Regions from separate parts of the Homo sapiens genome. Here regions 1, 2 and 4 are each linked to region 3. Evidence: promoter capture Hi-C in 16 types of primary human blood cells and fetal thymus (Javierre and others, 2016). All regions are on one chromosome and are shown on one strand. Each heading gives the region's core, a stretch centred on a gene start or on the middle of the fragment in contact. The rest is flanking DNA. Distances are from core to core; before and after follow the strand shown. Region 1 holds the start of H2AC15 (H2A clustered histone 15). Region 2 holds the start of H2BC8 (H2B clustered histone 8). Region 3 holds the start of TRH-GTG1-5 (tRNA-His (anticodon GTG) 1-5). Region 4 holds the start of H3C8 (H3 clustered histone 8).

The links. The method cuts DNA at HindIII sites, captures the fragments that hold promoters and counts their contacts. A CHiCAGO score of 5 or more calls a contact.
Region 1: the fragment with the promoter of H2AC15 here is called in contact with a fragment that was not itself captured in region 3 in 13 of 17 cell types (total CD4 T cells, naive CD4 T cells, naive B cells and 10 more); the score reaches 11.2 in total CD4 T cells.
Region 2: a contact is called between the fragment with the promoter of H2BC8 here and a fragment that was not itself captured in region 3, in 1 of 17 cell types (total B cells). The highest score is 5.2, in total B cells.
Region 4: a contact is called between the fragment with the promoter of H3C8 here and a fragment that was not itself captured in region 3, in 15 of 17 cell types (fetal thymus, non-activated CD4 T cells, activated CD4 T cells and 12 more). The highest score is 19.4, in fetal thymus.

What each region holds. Positions count from the first base shown.
Region 1 is chr6:27,835,327-27,840,559 of GRCh38, forward strand. H2AC15 (H2A clustered histone 15) reads right to left here and starts at 3,049. Exons shown (of 1, transcript NM_003510.3): 1 at 2,554-3,049. The coding sequence starts at 3,013. The coding sequence ends at 2,621. It overlaps H2BC15 (H2B clustered histone 15), which reads left to right and starts at 3,243. Exons shown (of 1, transcript NM_003520.4): 1 at 3,243-3,784. The coding sequence starts at 3,336. The coding sequence ends at 3,716. RefSeq lists enhancers at 1,179-2,116, 2,205-2,294, 2,365-2,414, 2,685-2,794, 2,865-2,954 and 3 more. The HindIII fragment of the contact is 16,643 bases long and covers 1-5,233 here.
Region 2 is chr6:26,214,703-26,220,561 of GRCh38, forward strand. H2BC8 (H2B clustered histone 8) reads right to left here and starts at 1,986. Exons shown (of 1, transcript NM_003518.4): 1 at 1,498-1,986. The coding sequence starts at 1,941. The coding sequence ends at 1,561. H2AC8 (H2A clustered histone 8) reads left to right here and starts at 2,219. Exons shown (of 1, transcript NM_021052.4): 1 at 2,219-2,735. The coding sequence starts at 2,273. The coding sequence ends at 2,665. It also overlaps the pseudogene H3C5P. RefSeq lists enhancers at 1,100-1,229, 1,280-1,369, 1,450-1,799, 1,711-2,362, 2,230-2,649 and 2 more. The HindIII fragment of the contact is 5,797 bases long and covers 1-2,558 here.
Region 3 is chr6:27,154,061-27,159,208 of GRCh38, forward strand. TRH-GTG1-5 (tRNA-His (anticodon GTG) 1-5) reads left to right here and starts at 4,067; the gene lies at 4,067-4,138. RefSeq lists a silencer at 4,178-4,227. The HindIII fragment of the contact is 1,152 bases long and covers 1,980-3,131 here.
Region 4 is chr6:26,267,732-26,272,873 of GRCh38, forward strand. It overlaps H3C8 (H3 clustered histone 8), which reads right to left and starts at 3,682. Exons shown (of 1, transcript NM_003534.3): 1 at 3,187-3,682. The coding sequence starts at 3,653. The coding sequence ends at 3,243. It also overlaps the pseudogene H2AC10P. RefSeq lists enhancers at 1,214-1,810, 2,584-2,723, 4,451-4,790, 5,121-5,142. The HindIII fragment of the contact is 12,049 bases long and covers 3,083-5,142 here.

The DNA.
Region 1 (5,233 bases), core at 1,799-4,298, 680 kb after region 3:
TTTCACAGATGATATAATACCATGAAGTGATAAGGCACTATAAATGTTCCTAATTGCTCCTTGCCCCTTGGATCTCTCTGATCTTTAGGTTGCCTCCTCTAGTTTACTTACTGTGAAGCTACTCATTTAACAGCTCCTCCATTTTCCTTTACATGTGTATGTGGAATTATAAACAATGATATATCACACTTGTATATTTTATTTTGCTTAATACATAAGTTTGCATGTCAATGTTTTGATTATGAGTACATTGATTTGAGTTTGCATAAATAACACCCAAAATTATAATAATTATAAAGCAAAAGTTACTTTACAAGCTGTTTAGCTTAAAGAATTTTACTTCTGGAACTCACGAACTCTGAAAAATATTACTTAGCTAGCTTTCATGATTAAATGGTGGTTCTTGGGAGAAACAGAATCAATGGAATAATTTTATTATCAACTTCAATGATCATAACAGCATATTTTATTTAAAAACTTATTTTAATTTCAAAAATCTTACAGGCCTTCTATGGAGCTGTATCATTTACTCTATATTGAGAAACAATTATTGAAAATTTATACACATAAATAACACAGATGACATTTTAAAAGGGAACAAATGAATTAATTCATTGAAATCAGGATGGAGTCCTCAACATCAAATAATAAATTTTTTTAAACAATGTGATATTTATGATTTTTGTGATTGCTGTTTTATTCCAAGAAATACTAGTTGTATGTGATTGCAATCAAGACTTAAATCTAGGAAATAAAAATGTGTGAAGAGACTCAAAAATTAATGTATTTCAATGGACTGGAGATCCTGTAGAAATTCATTTTCATTAACATGTCTGTATGAGGAAAACAGTAGCTTATATAAGTTTAGGTGGAGAGGAATAGAAGGCCCTCTCTATAGCTAGGAGGACTTGGTGATCTGAGAAGGAAAGGAGTGATCTTGGTGAAAGAAAGGAAGCAGGAAAAACTGACAGGAACAGGAGTATATGACCATGATATAATAAAAAACCTGACTTACAATGTCCTTCATTCATACTGTTTTTAAATAACACGTTCTAAAGTAATCTCACACCCTAACCCCAACCCTTTCCCATCATTTATATAAACAGTCCATTATGACATGTATTCTTTGCCCAAGCCAACTTGAAGCTCCTTTTGGATAGAGACTTTATGTATCTGGATTAATATTGTATTCCCATTTAGGAGAGTGCCTGGCACACCATAGATGCTCAGAAAGATTCAATTGAACTCGAATAGGTAGGCCAAACACACACGGGGTCCTAAATTGTGCAGAAGGGTCAGATACCTAAATTTTGCTTCCATGGTCTTATGAAGTATAAACTAAAAGCCCAAGTAAGGAGCAAAGGTTAGTTTACCAATTTTATCTCTGGAACCCAGGTACACTGAAAAGTATTATTTAGCTAGCTTTCAGTCCTCTGTAATACAGAAAGTAAATATCTGACACTAGGTTCATTTGAAACACTCTTGCTCTGTCACACAAGCTGGACTGCAGTGGTGCAATCATAGCTCATTGCAGCCTCGAACTCCTGGGCTCAAGTGATCCTTCTGGTCTCAGCCTCCCGAGTAGCTAGGACTACAGGCTATGAGACGCCAGGCACGGTTAGTTATTTTACTTTTGTAAAGATCAGGCTGGCTTCGAACTCCAAGGCTCTAGCGGTCCTTCCGCCTCGGCTTCCCAAAGCGGTTCTGTTTACCGGATGGTGCCAAACAGTTCCAGGCTCTTGGTGCCCGGTAGAAATTGGACGACACACACACAGATAGCAAAGCAAAGCAGCAAAAGTTTAGTAAACAGAGTATTACACTCTCGGGGGTGGGAGAGAGCGGACTGACCTCTGCGAGGTGAGATCAGCGTCAGCTTGCTGTAGTTTGAGTCATTTTATGTGTGTGCGTGCGTGTGTGTATGTTTTCTGTTCCCAGTGCTGCCTAATCTATAGCCAGCATCTGCCCTTTTATTGATAGGTTTGTTGCTTACTTTGTCCTCTGTGGCTTGTGCCTCTATCTTATAATCTTAAATATATGCATGATATGTAGCCCATATGCATGAACCTTAAGTAGCTGATTATCATACGGGCTTTTGTTAAGGATACTTTTCCTCTCTAATACGCATGCCCATCTCTGAAGAGCTGCCTCTTAAACTGGTTTGTTCCAGATCTTGCCGGCCACGAGGTCCTTGCTCACATTATCTCTTTTGTTTCGGCTGCAAAAGGTTCACTGCTTGTTATCTCGCTTCTTGTTCACCCGCCCATCTACCTTACTTCTGCCCTTTGCTTTTACTTATTCTGCCCTCTAACTTTCAGCTCCCTTTGTTATTCTCTTGCCTCACTTTTCTTATTGTTTCAGCTGTATTGCAGGCGCGAGCTGCCGCGCCTAAATTTCTTGATGTACCGTAAACATTTCAATGTCTACTTTCTATCTCAAAACAATGTGGTGTAAAAGCCGTTTAGTTTTGCTTCATCTCCATACAGCATTCCAGTGCCATTGCAAAATGACTCGACTATCAGATAAAACTGAACACAGCTCTACTTGGTGAAAAAGTAGGTGGCTCTGAAAAGAACCTTTTTGGTTTGGACCGAGGTATGAGTAATGAACTGCTCCAGCCCCGCTACTTGCCCTTGGCCTTGTGGTGGCTCTCAGTTTTCTTAGGCAGCAGCACGGCCTGGATATTGGGCAGGACACCACCCTGGGCGATGGTCACTTTACCAAGCAGCTTGTTGAGCTCCTCGTCGTTGCGGATGGCCAGCTGCAAGTGGCGCGGGATGATGCGGGTCTTCTTGTTGTCGCGGGCCGCGTTGCCAGCCAGTTCCAGGATCTCGGCGGTTAGGTACTCCAACACCGCCGCCAGGTACACCGGCGCTCCGGCACCGACCCGCTCAGCGTAGTTGCCCTTGCGGAGCAGTCGGTGCACTCGGCCCACTGGGAACTGAAGACCCGCCCTTGAAGAACGGGTCTTAGCCTTGGCGCGAGCTTTGCCGCCCTGCTTGCCACGTCCCGACATGACGTAAAAAATTCAATCAGTAACGTTCCTGAGACTGACGTAACGCTAAAGCTCCGCTACTTATAGTCAACAGAGGCACGAAAACTAAGCTGTGCTATTGGCTAACATTACAGTTTCGCTTTAACCAATGGGATTGCGGTTTTGAAAAACACTTATTTTGATTGGACAAAGTTAATATACGTTTCCAGGACTCACCACTGGTTAAACGCACAACTTCATTCTCTACCCCACTTGCGTTAAGAAGCAGTGAATAAGCGGTAGGTTGACAGAGCTACCGTCTTCCTGTTTTTTTCCTCCAATTTTCCGGCAGTTACTCCCAGTCATGCCCGAGCCCTCAAAGTCCGCTCCTGCCCCGAAGAAAGGCTCCAAGAAGGCAGTGACAAAGGCCCAGAAGAAGGACGGCAAGAAGCGCAAGCGCAGCCGCAAGGAGAGCTACTCCGTGTACGTGTACAAGGTGCTGAAGCAGGTCCACCCCGACACCGGTATCTCGTCCAAGGCCATGGGCATCATGAACTCCTTCGTCAATGACATCTTCGAGCGCATCGCCGGCGAGGCTTCCCGCCTGGCGCATTACAACAAGCGCTCGACCATCACCTCCAGGGAGATCCAGACGGCCGTGCGCCTGCTGCTGCCAGGGGAGCTGGCCAAGCACGCGGTGTCGGAGGGCACCAAGGCCGTCACCAAGTACACCAGTTCCAAGTGAGCCCGCCCACCGCGGAACGTTCGGTCAGTCTCGGCCCACACCCCAAAGGCTCTTTTCAGAGCCACTCAGTCTTCCCAAAGAGAACTGGCACTCACTGTTCTTACAGCAGGTATTTCTTACTTGCTACAAAGACGATTTCCAAGATTCCTTTAGCCTTGTTAGAAACTAATTTTGGCTCAAGCCTCTAATCCCGGTTCGGGAAACCGAAGCGGGTGGCTCACCTGAGGTTAGAAGTTCGAGACGAGCCTAGCCAACATGGTGAAACCCGTCTCTACTAAAAGTACAAAAAAATAGCTGGGCGTGGTGGCGGACGCCTGTAATCCCAGCTACCCGGGAAGCTGAGGCAGGAGAATCGCTTGAACCCGGCAGATGGAGGTTGCAGTGAGCCGAGATCGGGCCATTGCACCCCAGCCTGGGCAGTAAGAGCGAAACTCTGTCTCAAAAAAGAAAGAAAAAGAAAAGAAATTAATTAGCACTGCAGTGTACTGCATGTTGCAGCAACGCTTGAGACAATTTTATATCTGAAGAAGGATGAGGTTTATCATCAGACAAACCTAGTAAAGGGAAAATTCAGTTCCTGTTGACCCCAAAGAAAATATAATACTTAAGTGTCACTGGTAAAATATCCACAGTGCTTCCGGCGCTCTGTCCCTAAACTTCATGTGTACTTTAGTAATGAAGCAGTTGGCACACACACAAACGTACAAATCGACTTGTTTGTTTTGAGAGTGGTGCTGTTTCTCCTCCCTTGTCCCCAGTTTGGATTTGCTAAATATTAAGATAGAAAGGCAGTAGAAAAAAGTTTGAACCCAGTTTACAGCACCGTACACGTCAATCGGGCTGAGTTGATGTCAATGGCCAATCCCGACACTGCGAGGGCAGTTTGAAACTTGGCCACCGTTTTCTCTGGTGAGTGTTCTAGTTGGGAAAATTCTTGGCAGTGCAGGTTTTTTGGAGGAATCTTGCTGTCTTACTCATTCCCATAATTCTCTTGTGTGGAATTCCTATTTATGAACATAGTTTCTATTCCCTACTTTTTCTGTTAGGGTCTGCTCCATGTTTTCTTGTCTGTGTCACTTGCGTTTACTGTATCTCTAGTAATTGGAAGAAATGTTAAAAGAAAAAAAAATAGAGGAGGAGAAGGGCTGTTCTCCATTGTTTTCCCCCACCCCCAACTCAGGAAATCAAAATGAGTGTCTTCATTTTAAACACTTAGGAGTGGCATATTTAAAAGTATTTTGGTCTTTGCCAAGAATCAGTGTGGGAACTCTTCCACATCAAATTGTATTTGCTGAAGGTTTTTGATAATATTTTTTATCCAGTAAGTGTACTCCAGTGACCCAACCATTCGATTCCTAGCTGTTTACATGAAAGAATATTTTGCACACATGCAACAGGAGACATATGAGAATGGAAAAAATGCCATTTTTAATAGATAAAAATACTAGAGGCAACTACATGTTCATGGTCAAAATAATGCATTTATTGAGGTACACACAGTACCTGGTTGAATTTTA
Region 2 (5,859 bases), core at 736-3,235, 940 kb before region 3:
AGAATATTTACTATGTCAAGGCGCCATACTTTGGAGTACTATGTTGTCAGAAACCTGAGGTTGCTCATGGAGTACTATGGAGTAGTGACCTTTTTTTTTTTTTTGGTCCCATTTTAGAAATTTGATTAATGAGTATAAACTAATGGTTTCTATGTTTGAGACGGAGTTTCGTTCTTGTTGTCCAGGCTGGAATGAAATGGCGGGATCTTGGCTCACTGCAACCCCCGCCTCCCGGTTTCAAGCGTTTCTCCTGCCTCAGTCTCCGAAGTAGCTGGGGTAACATAGGCATGCGCCACCACGCCCGGCTAATTTTGTTATTTTTAGTAGATACGGGGTTTCACCATGTGGGTCAGGCTGTTTTTGAACTCCTGACCTCAAGTGATCCACCAGCCTCGCCTCCCAAAATGCTGGGATTACAGGCGAGAGCCACTGCGCCCAGCCAGCCAAAACTGTAATTTTTTTTTTTTTTTTTTTTTTTTTTTTTTTATGAGATGGAATCTAGCTCTTTCGCCCAGGATGGAGTGCAGTGGCGCGATCTCTGATCACTGCAACCTCCGCCTCCCGGGTTCAAGTGACTCTCCAGCCTCAGCTTCCAGAGTAGCTGAAACTACAGGTGAGTGCCACCACGCCCGGCTAATTTTGTTTGTATTTTTTTAGTAGAGACAGGGTTTCACAGTGTTAGCCAGGATGGTCTCGACCTCCTGACCTCGTGATCCGCCCGTCTCGGCCTCCCAAAGTGATGGGATTAGAGGCGTGAGCCACCGCGCACGGCGGAAAACGAGATTTTTTAGATCAACTTTACATTGCCAATGCCCATGGTATTCCCTCCACAACAAACTCCACAAGAGTGCTCAGAAAAGTCAAACTTGTTATCAGGTGATCTTTAGGGACCCAAAGACTACTCTTCCTACCCTTTCCAGTGTTGCCCAGGCTGGAATTGCACTAGCGTATTCACATGTTCCTGCAGTCTCTAGCCCGAGAGTTTAAGCTATCCTACCACCTCAGCCTACCGAGTAAATGATAGTACAGACGCAAGCCGTCACACCTGGTTAGCTTCATTTTTTTGCAGAGACGAGTTCTATGTTGCCCAGGCAAATCTGTTAACTCCTGAGCTGAAGAAAGCCTCATGCATCGACCTCCCAAAGTGCTAGGATTACAGGATCTTGCCAACACAGAACAGGAGTATCTCCTGATCAATTTTTTTTGAGACGAAGCCTCGCCTTTGTCGCCCAGGCTAGAATGCAAAAGCGCCATGTCTTTTCACTGCAACCTTTGCTTGCTGGGTTTAAGTGATTCTCCTGCGGCAGCCTCCCGAGTCTCTGGGATGACACGCGACTGCCCCACGCCCGGCTAATATTTGTATTTTTAGTAGAAACGAGATTTAACCACGTTAGCCAAACTGGTCTCGATCCGCACGCCTCGGCCTCCCAAAGTGCTGGGATTACAAAATCGGAAAAATTATTCCCTAGAAAACGGTGAAATTCAATATTAAAGCTCTTTATGTGAGACTTGAGTGGCTCTGAAAAGAGCCTTTGAGTTTTAAAGCACCTAAGCACACATTTACTTGGAGCTTGTATACTTGGTGACAGCCTTGGTACCTTCGGACACTGCGTGCTTGGCCAGCTCTCCGGGAAGCAGCAGACGCACGGCGGTCTGGATCTCCCTGGAGGTAATGGTCGAGCGCTTGTTGTAGTGGGCCAGACGGGAAGCCTCGCCTGCGATGCGTTCGAAGATGTCGTTAACGAAGGAATTCATGATGCCCATGGCCTTGGATGAGATGCCAGTATCGGGGTGAACCTGTTTTAGCACCTTGTACACATACACGGAGTAGCTCTCCTTACGACTGCGCTTGCGCTTCTTGCCATCCTTCTTCTGCGCCTTGGTCACAGCCTTCTTGGAACCCTTCTTCGGAGCAGGAGCTGACTTAGCTGGTTCAGGCATGCTGTCAGAAAACAATAACAGCAGTGAGAATGAACGCACTTAAATAAAAGCTCGTGTCTAGAGTCTCTCCTTTTATAGGCCTTTCATGCAAATAAAGAATTCAAAATATCCAGCTCTGATTGGGCAATGTGTTAGTGACGCATACATGTAAAATAGCCTTCACCTTATTTCCTTTCTAATTGGTTGGCTCGTCAAAGAACAATTTTAACCAATCAAATTGCGCCTTTCACAATTCTACCGATGACTATAACTAGCTTCTTATTCCTCCATCGAGCCCATTCTTTTTCTTTATTCAGTGGATTGTTAGTTCTTCTGCTGTTAGGAAGCCACTATGTCTGGACGTGGAAAGCAAGGCGGCAAAGCTCGGGCAAAAGCTAAAACGCGTTCTTCCAGGGCCGGTCTTCAGTTTCCAGTTGGCCGTGTGCACCGCCTCCTCCGCAAAGGCAACTACTCCGAACGAGTCGGGGCCGGCGCTCCAGTGTACCTGGCAGCGGTGCTGGAATATCTGACGGCCGAGATCTTAGAGCTAGCTGGCAACGCGGCTCGCGACAATAAGAAGACCCGCATCATCCCGCGCCACCTGCAGCTAGCCATCCGCAACGACGAGGAGCTAAATAAGCTTCTAGGTCGCGTGACCATCGCGCAGGGCGGTGTCCTGCCCAACATCCAGGCCGTATTGCTGCCTAAGAAGACGGAGAGCCACCATAAGGCCAAGGGCAAGTGAAATGATTACTAGTCAAATCCGTCAGTGATCCCGAGTCCCAGAAACCAAAGGCTCTTTTCAGAGCCACCCACCTTTTCTGTAAAGTGCTGGAATACACATACGATGCCTGAAATCTCAATGTTCACTGTCCTAATTTTTAACGAACGCTTCTGACGTTACTGGTCAGTTCTTTATTGAAATCCTTGCTCACATTTCATGCACTAATTTATCTTACTGGTGTTTCTTTGCAGTAAAAATGCGTTTATAAAGGTATACAAGAATAGAAACCGAGGTTGTGACACCAAGGTTTCACTGCGTTATTTTGTGTATAGGTCCATGCTGTGTATACAAATTTATCATTAATACACAGGCTGTTTATTCATGTGCACTTGTCAGAAAAGGGTGAAATATTAATACAGAAACGAGAGAACAAAGAAGGATAGCTGCCCATTAGCATTTCAGGGCGGGCTTTTTAAGTTTTAAAGATGACTGCATTCCGGCTGGGCTCAGTGGCTCATGCCTGTAATCCCAACACTTTGGGAGGCCAAGGAGGGCGGATCATAGGGTCAGGAGTTCGAAATCAGCCTGCCCAACATAATGAAAGCCCGTCTCTACTAAACAAATACAAAAAGTAGCCGGGCGTGGTGGTGTGCATCTGTAGTCCCAGCAACTTGGGAGGCTGAGGCAGGAGAATCGCTTGACTCCGGGAGGCAGAGGCTGCAGTGAGCCGAGATCACGCTATTGCACTCCAGCCTGGGTAACAGAGCAAGACTACGTCTCAAAAAAAAAAAAAAAAAAAAAGACTACATTCCTCTAGTGAGAATTGTGTTTGTTGGATTTCTCTTTTCAAAAGGAGCAATTAACACAGTATTCTAAAATAAACACTAAACGAAACTAAGCAGTAACGGCCTGACGCCCTAGGTCAGACCTGTAATCCCAGCAATTTGAAAGACTAAGGCAGAAGAATCGCTTGAGCCCAGGAGATCAAGACCAGCCTGGGCAATAAAGCGAGACAGCCCCCTCACCTCCACAAAAAGTAAAAAGCCTGCCCTGCCCGGTGGCTCATGCCTATAATCCCAGCACTTTGGGAGGCCGAGATGGGCGGATCACTTGAGGTCAGGAGTTCGAGGCCAGCCTGGCCAACGTGGCAAAACCCTGTTTCTACTAAACATACAAAAAAATTAGCCAGGCATGGCGGTGGGCTCCTGAAATCCCAGCTACTCGGGAGGCTGAGGCAGGAGAATCGCTTGAACCCGGGAGGCGGGGGTTGCAGTGAGCCAAGATCATGCCATTGCACTCCAGCCTGGACAATAGAGCGAGACTCCGTCGTCTCAAAAAAAAAAAAGAAAAGAAAAGAAAAAGCCTGGCCTGGTGGCTCAGTCTGAGATCTTAGATACTTGGGAGAATTACGCGGGGAAGGATTGATTGAGCCCAGGAGTTCGAAGCTGCAGCGAGCTATGGGGGGCAAAGCAAGATCCTGTTTAGGAAAGGAAAAAAAAAAAAAAACAAAAAAAACCCAGCAGCAAAAACTTAGTTTTATGACCTAAATTTATAAATGGACTACACTGTAAAGCACAATTAATTATTCAACTTTAGTAGAAATCCAGTCACATTTCTCTGTAAAAAATCTCAAATCTAATTGGATCACACACCAGGCCCTATAAAGAGAAGTGATCTGTAAATCTGATATGAAAGGTCATGGCCTGCACCAAGCCAACCACACGGAAGTCCACTGGTGGCAGACAGCCTCCTAAGCAGCTGGCCACCAAGGCAGCCAGCAAGAGCACTCTGGCCACCAGCAGCTTGAAGGTGTCCCTCAGATATAGGCCCTGAATCATGCTGAAATTCATCGCTACCAGAAGTCACTGAGCTACTTAAGGGAAAAGCTGCCCTTTCTTAAATGTTAGGACAAGGTTGCTGAATGAGATTATTAAAAAAATTAATGCCCCTAGGGTTCTAAATAATTGCAGTTATATGTGTTCCACTGAACAGAAGTTATTGGCATCACAAATAATTTGCATCAAAAATAATTTCTGGTGATACAAATAACAGAAATTATTTGCATCACCAGACAAAAGCCTCCAAGAAGTAACTTCGATAGTTTGATACCTTTAATCAATGGTAAATTGTGAGATGATGTAAGCACATTTCCCTGCAAACTTTGTAAAAACTATAAATTTTTTATAGTGGGATACATTCTTCCCCCTCCCTTTTTTCCTCACAAGTCTTACAATGTTTCTTAAATAAAATTTTCACTAAAACACGATTAAAATATAGCAATTGCAAGATAAATGTCTATGAAGCCCCATAGTATAACTCCCTGACATTCTTTACTCAATCAAATTGGGGCTCAGAAACAATACCCCAAAATGAAGGCCAAAGAAGCAACCTCAGAAGCAAAATTTTTCTGTGACTTTCTCCTGCCCTCTTGTCTCTCAGTCCCATTCTCCCCTGAGGCTAGACATAGAAACTAGAATTCCGGTTTCCCAAGGTGGCTTATGACAACCAGAATCCTTTTTCCCCAAAGCCAACCACAAAAACTAAAAATATTACTCTAACTTCCCTTCCAACTTTTCGTGTAAAAACTGGACACAGAGAAATTATTTGATCCACCTTGTTTAATTGCAGGTCATAAGACCCCATTCCAGAGATGGAGCTGTCCCATACCCAATACCCAGAAGGAAGGAATGCATGTTCAAAGAGGTGAGGGATGAAATGAAAATTCTAAACCCCTTTGACAGAATAATGGACCCTCCTTTGGCTAAAAGACCCCAAAAGTTTAAGTTCCCAGGCATGACAGGATGGAGGCTGCACATCCTGTTTGTTTCTACCCCTCTTCCCCTTTCTAATCACTGCTAGATTTTCTCAAAGTCCGATTTGAGGGAATAATACACCGGAAAGCCCTTTTACTTACTTTATCTGGCCTCTTCCACCCTCCTCCATGGTGGTCCAGACAAGACAGATATTAAGGACCATAGAGTTTCTTGATAAATGACTGCAGGCCCACAACTGGTTGTGACCAGTCTCCTGAGAATGCAGATCATGGACTTCTGCCCTACATTTCAGTTTTATATATAGGACCTAATTATAACTCATTTAAATGTTAAATCTTCACCCCAAAGTGATCATGGGACATATCTTACATACATGTAAACCTAATACACATCTGATTGGGTGTCCTTCATGAATATTCATAGCTCCTCCTATAACCTGTT
Region 3 (5,148 bases), core at 1,306-3,805:
ATGGTAGTATAAAATATGCCTTTATTCCTGTGGGATCTGTGTCCTTGTGATCTTTTCTTTATCTCATTGTCACAATTTTTAATTGACCATGGCTTGTGGGCAAAAAACATTTAGAGACTTCTCTGGATTAGTAATGTTTGTTTGTTTGTTTGTTTTTTGTTTTCTTTAACCTCCACTGTACAGCAGACACCAAACTACCTCCTAGAAACTGGAAGCAATCACTCCAAGTAGAGGGACACTTTTCCCTGCATATTGGTTCAGTGGCATGAAAAGACTAAAATGGCCAGAAGCAGTTTTCAGGTTTCAATTGATTTGAAAGGTGACAATGCTCTCTAGTGGAAATATTTATCCACTGGGCACAAAGACACCCATTCCCTCAGAGCTCGATCAAGGTCACAGGGATAGGATACAAAATTGTCTGAATGGATCACTGAGGAATAATGAGAAGTGCCACTCACACCTCTACTTCTTGAGTCCCAGACATGTGCATTCTAGATATGGAGAGATGGCTCTACATATTGGCCACTGTTTTAATACTTATTAATACTATCACATTGGCAATTAACTATCAACATAAGAATTTTGGGGAACACATTCAGACCACAGCAGTTTCTAAGAGGAGGTAGAAATCCAATGTATCAAATAGTGTTGAGAAATCATATAAGTTGAGGACTAACATAGCCATTTCAACTAGTGAAATGTAAAAGATCAGTTTAAGTGGAGTGTTGAAGAAGAAAGCAAGATGAAGGAGTGTAATAAAGAAATGAGATGAAAGAAGATTTGGGTTTGATGACACTTCAAGGAAATATGGCTATAAACTGAAAGACAGTACTATCAATAGCAGAAAGGAAAAGTGAAAGCAAGAGAACAATTCTTTCAGATGAAAGAAATAAAAGCAGCTTTGAATGCTGATGCGAAAGATCCTATAGAGATCAAATAGAATTTTATTTAATAATACAGGAGAAAGAGGAAAATATTGCTGGAACTATGCCCTTGAAAGAAAGAGGGCTTTTAATTATTTCTTACAGAAAATTTAGAAATTCAGAAGTAGAAGAGTGCATGGCATTGGTAAAGGTAGAACTGGTAGGTTCAACTGTGCCAGCCTGTCTCTTATTCTTCCCAGAATCACTGTAGTGAATGTGTCAGATGAAATCTTCAAAATGGCCTTCCAAAATAAGCACAAGGAAAGAGGCCTTTTTCTAGGCCTATGACATCAAAGATACAGCTTTTCCCTCTTTTTATGGAGAAGCACATGCAGATCAACCCAATTTCCAAAAACATCCCAGCAGAAAATGCTGAAAAGCACTTTCATTCACAGCAGCTTTCTAAATGGGGTTGGGGAAGGCCCTAAGCAAAGGAAAAGGAAAGATCTAACTCAAAGAGACTTGAGACAGAGGCAGCTTGCATTTCCTTCTTACTGGCTGCATTTTCTTTGATGGAGCTCATGTCTTTGAGACTGAGAAAGCCCTTAGGTCACTTCCCTGATCAAACAAATTAATGTTAGGGCTGGGTGCGGTGGCTCATGCCTGTAATCCCAGCACTTTGGGTGGCGGAGGTGGGCGGATCATAAGGTCAGGAGATCGAGATCATCCTGTCTGAAACAGTGAAAACCCGTCTCTACTAAAAATACAAAAAATTAGCCAGTCGTGGTGTCACGCGCCTGTAGTCCCAGCTGCTCAAGAGGCTGAGGCAGGAGAATCACTTGAACCCAGGAGGCGGAGGTTGCAGTGAGCCAAGATCGCACCACTGCCCTCCAGCCTGGGCGACAGAGCGAGACTCCATCTCAAAAAATAAAATAAAATAAAATAATAATAATAATAATAATAATAATAATAATAATAACAATGATGCTAGGAAACAGGTAATTCTTCATTCAGTAAACCTATTAGTAATTAGAATACTTTTGTGTAATCCAGACAGAGGAAAGGAGATAAAGAAAATTTTAGGAAATTAAGCACATTATTTTGGCTCTGCTGAGAAGCTTTATTATGGATAGCTGCAGGGGTAATTTTGAACTCCCTTCATTTTTAAATTTATTATTATTATTTTAGAGGGAGGATCTTGCTCTGTAGCCCAGGCTGCAGTGCAGAGGCACAATCATAGCTCACTGCAACCTCAAACTCCTGGATTCAAGTGATCCTCCTGCCTCAGCCTCCCTTGTAATGGGGACTACAGGCATGCACCTCTGTGCCTGGTTAAATTTTTTTATTTTTTTTGTAGAGACAGGGTCTCACTATGTTGCCCAAACTTGATTCAAATTCATGGCCTCAAGCAATACTCCTGTCTTGACCTCCCAACCTTTCTTTAAATTATTACCAATCTTTTCCCATCAAAGGTCAAAAGGCAAGCCTGCTGAACTAGGCCAGATGCTGCTGGGAGAAGTTGCTTTCATAGAGCTTTGGATGGTAGTCTCTGCCCACCCATTCATTCATTCTGCAGCCAAACTATATTGATAAAGAACCTACCAAATGGGGAGCCCTAGTGATAGATTATTGAACAAAATAGATATTCCTCGTCTTGGGGCATATGGAGCGGGAGGATGGAGGCTGACATTAATCAAATAACTCTGGTATTATACATTACAAACTGATATAAGAGCACTAAAGGAAAAGTGAAAAAGAATCAAGTGGCCGGGCATGATGGCTCACGCCTGTAATCCCAGCACTTTGGGAGCCCGAGGCGGGTGGATCACTTGAAGTCAGGAGTTATAGATCAGCCTGGCCAACATGGTGAAACCCCCTCTCTAATAAAAATACAAAAATTAGCCCTGCGTAGTAGCTTACGCCTGTAATCCCAGCTACTCGGGAGGCTGAGGCAGGAGAATCGCTTGAACCCGGGAGGTGGAGGTTGCAATGAGTCGAGATTGTGTCATTGCCCTCCAGCCTGGGCAACAGAGCGAGACTCTGAGAAAAAAAAAAAGAAGAAGAAAGAGAAAGAAAGAAAGAAAAGGAAGGAAGGAAGAAAGAGAATGAGAGAGAGAGAAAGAAAGAAGGAAGGAAAGAAGAAAAGAAAAGAAAGAGAGAGGGAAGGAGGGAGGGAGAGAGGAAGGAAGGAAGGAGGGAAAGAAGGGAGGGAAGGAAAAAAAAAAAACCAAGGAACCATGTGTTGCGTGGAGACGGGAGGTCAAGAAAAGCTTCCTTGATTTGAAAAGCTTTCTTGAGTTGAAGCTGAAGCATTAAACAAATTTAACCAGGTAAAGAGAAGAGGCCGGGCGCGGTGGCTCACTCCTGTAATCCTAGCGCTTTGGGAAGCCGAGAGGGGCGGATCAGTTGAGTTCAGGAGTTTAAGACCAGAATGATTTTACAGAAAGAAAATCATTTGGTATCAAGGGGAAAACACGACCAGGACCTTGACTCTAGAGGCTACGTTCCTAAAACAGCAAGCGGGGCAGGAGGGAAGTCCCACGGAGCTTTGGAGCCACAGGAGAGGCACTTTTATCTCCCTCTTCTGGCAAACTAGGTATGAAAGGGAGAAAGAAATTTCACTCTGAGGTGCGAGCGCCGCCGGACATTTCCTGACGGCTCAGGTGGGCAGGCTGAGTGCGCGAGCGCCTCACTGGCTTCTCATAGGTACCTGGGTCAGGACGAAGCCACATAGTTCCTCGTGATGAGAAACTCACTTCTGGCACCTGTCGAGATGCCAGATTCCATGCCAAGCCCCCGAAGATTCTGACTAGTTTGGCAAAAAATGGGATCTGGCAGGTCCACTTCAAAGCAGCGCCCTCTTCCTTTTGTTGCCAAAGATCTGAGGACCACACTGCTAAACTGAGCAAGAAACATGCGTGGGTTGGAGATAGAAGTGAGAATAATGAGTTTACAAGCACAGTATTACCAACCCCCAAAAACAACCACCACGCTGGGAAAATTCCATATAATGAAACTTAATGTGTTACCTTTGGCTTCTTTGCCATAAGCAAAATATTGGGGACGGGGAGTGGATAAGGAAGTAAACTGGGTAGGTGTGTAAATAAGGACGAAAGACTGCACCATTCTTTAGATGACAAAAACAGACGTTTCTGGGAAATAAGCAAAGGAAGAGCCCCACAAGCAGCGGCCTCTGGTGGCGTGCCGTGATCGTATAGTGGTTAGTACTCTGCGTTGTGGCCGCAGCAACCTCGGTTCGAATCCGAGTCACGGCAGTACCTTGATGTCGCCTCAATTTCTCAACGTACTGAGCAGTACCTTGACGTCGCCTCAATTTTTCAACATACTGGAGTGGAGACAGTCTCGGAAAAACCCTTGCAAAATTGAATTGACTTACGATCTAATCTGTACACAAAAAACACTAGTATTCATCATGGTGCCCCAACCAGTCAGCCAAGCAGAGAGTGTCTACGCTTGTTGCCTTGTCTTTTTTTTCCCCTCTCCAAAGATTCTCTTCCCAACCCTACCCAAGCCCTACAGTCTTGTTGGCATTGGCTGTATGTGAAGAAACTGAGGTAATTTTTTTTTAATGGAAAACTTTTACTTTCAAACACTGGTAGGCATGAGGAAAGGACTGTTCAAAAGGGGATCCAGGTTTGTTGTGGAGATCTTTCTTAAAACACAAAAGACAAATTATTAATCACGCGTTTCTAAGTATCCTAGCTGGACCAATGCTGAAAAACTGTAACCTTTGATCATCTGGAGAAAATTAAAGAAATTTGAGTAATTGAAGGAATTTGGGTGGGGGGGAATAATGGCCCAGAAGAACAGCCCCCATTTCTAGCCCGTTCAGTTTCTAGAATGAGTTCTAAAGAGCCAAGTAGACTGGGTGAGGCGGGAGTGGAGGAGAGCTGATCTGAGATACGGAGGTGGCTGGAAAGAAGTAGTTGGTGCTACCTAGGACCAGTAGGAGGTGGCTGGAGACAGGCAGATCCCCAGAGGCGCTTCCATGAGCCCAGTTCTAGTTAGTAGCACAGCACTCTGAGAACACATTAATGGCACTTCGTCCCTCCTGGCCCTGGTGGAAGGTTAGTATTCAAACAGGTGTGGTGGCTCATGCCTATAATCCCAGCACTTTGGGAGGCCGAGGCGGGCAGATCACCTGAGGTCGGGAGTTCGAGACCAGCATGGCCAACATGGTGAAACCCCGTCTCTACTAAAAATACAAAAATTAGCTTGGCATAGTGGCATAGGCCTGTAGTCCCAGCTATTCGGAAGGCTAAGG
Region 4 (5,142 bases), core at 2,432-4,931, 890 kb before region 3:
GCTTCCCATGACACTCCTTAGTCTTGCTCTATTTTTTTTTCCTTCTCACCATCTAACATATTACATAAACATATCTAGTTTATTTTCTGTCTATTCCAGACTCAAATGTAAATTCCATGAAAGCAAAAATTTTGTGTTTTGTTCTCTGGGTGTATTTCCAATGCACAGACCAGCATCTGGTACATTGTAAATTCTCAACCAGTGTTGTTTGCAGTAAATAAAAATCAATGTTGAAGAAATATGTCAACCAAAATGGATCATATTAAATTTTTAAAAAAGAAATACTATTTGTTATAAAAGTAATGATGGCATCATAATTTATTTTTGTTTTTATTTTTGAGATGGAGTCTCGCTCTGTCACCAGGCTGGAGTGTAGTGGCATGATCTTGGCTCACTACAACCTCCGCCTCCCAGGTTCAAGAGATTTTCCTACCTCAGCCTCCCCAGTAGCTGGGATTACAGGCGTGCACCACCAGGCCCGGTCCAGCTAATTTTTATATTTTTAGTAGAGATGGGGTTTCACCAAGTTGGCCAGGTTTGTCAAGAATTAACCTCATGTGATCCTCCCACATCGGCCTCCCAAAGTGCTGGGATTACAGGAGTGAGCCAAGGCACCTGGTCCATAATAAGGTGTTAAATAGCAGATAACATATATAAAATAGATGAAATGATATTGAAATTGTCATTGCAACATTGTAACTGAGACAAAGAGATCTGACCTAACCAACTCCATCTTGCTTCTAACCTTCAAGCTGTCCTTGTTCACTCCTGGGTGTAGGCTGAACTACCTTTGGGAGGAACTTAGTTTATAGTTTAAAACTAATATGATAACAGCCCTTTCCCAAAACAAACCTCCTTGCCTGGGGACTAGACTGCCTTTGTAGGACTAACAAATTACTCACAAGATTAGAAATTATGGTTTAGGGGTAGGTCGTAATGGCTCACGCCTGTAATCCCAACATTTTGGGAGGCGAAAGCGGGTGGATCACTTGAGGTCCAGAGTTCGAGACCAGCCTGGCCAATATGAGGAAACCTCGTCTCTACTAAAACTACAAAAATTGGCTGGGCATGGTGGCGCGCGCCTGTAATCCCAGCTGCTTGGGAGGCTGAACAGGAGAATCGCTCGAACCTGGGAGGCAGAGTTTACAGTCTCCATCCTGGGCAACGCAGTGAGACTGTCTCAAAGAAAAAAAAAAACACACACATTATGGTTTAGGAGTCCTGCAGCTGGAACCTACAAGATTCTGACCCCACGTAAACTGCTCCTAAGATCAGTGCTTGAGATATTTTGCAGACCTGATGGATCAGTTGGCCCCACCCAGATTGGTAAACTGACTCATCCGATCTTGTGGCCTCCACCCAGAAACTGACTCAGCCCAAGGAGACACCTTCAGCTCCCTATAATGACATCTCTGACCTGACCAATCAGGACTCCTGGTTCATCGGCTTCCCCCCCATCTGGAATGCTGGGGAGACTGATTTGAGTAACAATAAAACTACGGTCTCCCGCACAGCTGGCTCGGCGTGAATTACTTTCTCTATTGCAATTCCCTGCCTAGATAAATCAGCTTTGTCTAGGCAGTGGGCAAGGTGAACCCATTAGGCAGTTTCATTATTTGCTTTACAAAAATCAATAGATAAAACACTTAGCCAATGTTGTTATTGAAGCTGGATGAGAGGAACATAGGTTTTATTAAACTATTATCTCCTTTCCCATATATTCTGGAATGTCAAATAAGTTTTTAAAATAAAAGCAATATGTGAAAAAAAATGACAAGTTGCTAAATTAATAAAGATCATAAAGAAGGATCTGCTGAATACCCAAACAGGGCCTTGTGCTAATCTGTAAAGGAAGGGTTCTATATGAAAACATATCTTGGTTGTATGCCAAGCAGCCCAGGATGGTATGTGTTCCTCCTTGTAACATCCCTAAAAACCTGATACTTCCAATCACTAAAAGGACCTCGGTGGTTCAAAAAAACAAAAAACAAAACAAAACAAAAAAGAAAAAACTTACATTAGTGTTGCCCTAAGAAATTCTTATAAAAGCCAGGTGTTGAAAGATAGTCAAGCAAGCCAGAAAGTCTTTAGAGACCAGTATATTCTCTCTGAAGGCAAACTACAAGGAAACTGATTCAATTAGAAAACTGCTAAGCCTAGAGTCAAACCAGAGCTAATAAGAGTATTAAAATTTATGTAGCAAGGAGTCTCAGCCCCAGCTGTTAGAAGCACCTGAATTTTAATAATTACCATTCCCTGGGCCCACTCTAGATTGCTATTAGTCTCATTGAACCCCAGGTAAAGATTTTTCTAAAGCCTTCCCATGTGACTGTAATGTTACATTGAGAAAACTGATCTGTAAAGAAATCAAACTATTTTAGGGGATTGTTCTGTGCACTTGCTTTAGAGAACATTTCATAGAATATTTCATTCTGTAACATAAATAAACATGCATTTTGCAAAAGCTCACTCCTTGTAAGAGTTCACAGGCAGGATGCCTTTACTGATGAGACCAAAACCAACAACCTAGGCTTCCTAAATCAGTGTTCATGAGAATCATCTGAGGTATATGCAGATTGACTCCAGCCCTAGATGGGGATTGAAACAAGCTCCCATGTAATGCCCTGGGAGCTTCTAACAAGTTCCCACGTAATGCCCATGCTGCCAGTAATGTAGAGGCCAATCTGGCTTTCGTTTCTGCCGCCAATTTCTAATATTGAATTAAAAAATGGATCATTTCACAGAAAAACCAAGAACTGTTTAAAAAAAGGGGGAATTGTGGAAATAGCTGCTTCAGACACGAAAAAGCAGCAACCAAGGATATCCCTACCTACTCTCAACTGCCAATGCTCATACCTGTAAAGTTTTAAAAGGGATTAACCAGAAATACACAACGAAAAAAAATCCCATCTATAATGGGTGTAAGTAGACAACGCGACTAACGCTTGAGACAATGTATATAAACGCCCCCAGGTGGCCCCTTCCACTACCAAATCGAAGCTCCAAACCCCTAAAAGCCAGTTTAGAAAAGGACGCTGACAATCTGGCACTTTCGGGAAAAAGCACGGGAACAAATATAGCAAGCTTACCATTAACTTTAGCCAATCAAATGAGGACTTAAGTACTAAAACCAATGTTTAGTTTCAAAGATTTGATTAGTTAATCACAGCTATTTTCGGGTGAAAGTAGGCGGCTCTTAAAAGAGCCTTTTTAAGTTGGATAGAATTACTGCCCGGAAACCTCTACGCTCTCTCCCCACGAATGCGGCGAGCGAGCTGAATGTCCTTGGGCATGATAGTCACTCGCTTAGCATGGATGGCACACAGGTTGGTATCCTCAAAGAGCCCCACCAAGTAGGCCTCGCAGGCCTCCTGCAGGGCCATCACCGCGGAACTCTGAAAGCGCAGATCTGTCTTGAAGTCCTGAGCGATTTCTCGCACCAGGCGTTGGAAAGGCAACTTGCGGATCAGCAGCTCAGTCGACTTCTGATAGCGGCGAATCTCGCGCAGAGCCACGGTGCCGGGACGGTAGCGATGAGGTTTCTTCACGCCGCCGGTGGCCGGCGCGCTTTTCCGAGCCGCCTTAGTGGCCAGCTGCTTGCGCGGCGCTTTGCCACCGGTGGACTTGCGTGCAGTCTGCTTGGTGCGGGCCATCTCAGACTACCTGAAAGAAAAACTCAGCCACTTGGCAGAGTGGAAACTGCCCTTATATATACTCAGAAACATTCTAATTGGCCTTGTTGATTTTCAAAAGACCCGCGCAACAAAACCATTGGCTGAAGAGTCCAACGATGTGATTGGTGAATTACTGGAAAATCTGATTGGATGAATCACTTCATTTTTGAATCCTCTCTTCTCGGTTAGTCTGCGATCCAAGAACGTTAACTTCTTAAAGTTCTAATTCTGCGCTTCTCAAGCTGTAGTCCGTAAACGACTACTTTAAGACTTGGAAGACGCTAATTCTCATTCAGTAGATGTGTTGTGGGGCCAGATTCGGAGGACCACGTTTTGAGAAGTTTATCTTGTGCCGTTTTCTTGAGTCACCTGGACTGCTGCTAGCTGGAAACCTTTGACCATTATAAGGCAGGATTCCTGGGTGATGTACCTGGGAAATCACGAGCCAAGAAGTCACCGACATACAACAGTGAGCAACAAATGTTAACTGAATTCTATTTTGTCCCAAATGGTGTTTTGCTTCGGTTGAGAATTTTTAAGGCACAGGCTAATTTTAGGTTTTCCAACGACTCTTATCATTTACTTTTCGTTGGGTCCTATTGATGATATTCCAGGATACCACCCCCACTAGCCTCTTCTGCAGGATAACTTGAACACTGCAGTGGCCCTGTCCATCTAAACTTTACAAGGTTTTGTAAACGTTACTGAACTTGCTTCTTCCCGACTACATTAAAGCACTTACTTGAGATATTAAACATTTTCTCATTAGTCCTGTTTGCCTAGTCAGTCACTTGTATAGACAGGGCAACAGCACGGCCTGAATATTGGGCAGGACACCGCCCTGCGCGATAGTAACTTTGCCCAACAGCTTGTTGAGCTTCTCGTCGTGGATGGCGAGCTGCAGGCGTCGGGGGGTGACGCGGGTCTTCTTGTCTCGGGCCGCGTTGCCCGCCAACTCCAGGATCTTGGCGGTCAGGTACTCCAGCACCGCCTCCAGGTACACCGGCGCACCGGCCCGGACCCGCTTGGCGTAGTTGCCCTTGCGGAGGAGGCGGTGCACTCGGCCCACAGAAAACTGGAGACCAGCCCTGGAAGAGTGCGTTTTAGCCTTGGCGCGAGCTTTGCTGCCCTGCATTCCACATCCAGACGCAGTGAAGTATTTAAATACTTGTTTAGAAGAAGGAAAGTGATTGATTCTAGTAAAACGCAAGAGCTAAACTCTTATAATCTATATTCGGCAAAGTAGACTGTGCTATCTCCTGAACACAGATTTCAGCCAATCGAAAAGCAGGTGTTTAAAAAAATTTAAAAAAAAAAAAAAAAAAAAAACCACTTCTGACTTACATACTTATAGTTGAAAGGTCAAATTATGCAAGGTTGAGCTTCTGGGAGAGCCGATGAGATTTAGGAGTTCAGAAATGGCCTATCATATATTCAGACACTAAAAGAACCAATGAGAAACCGAAAC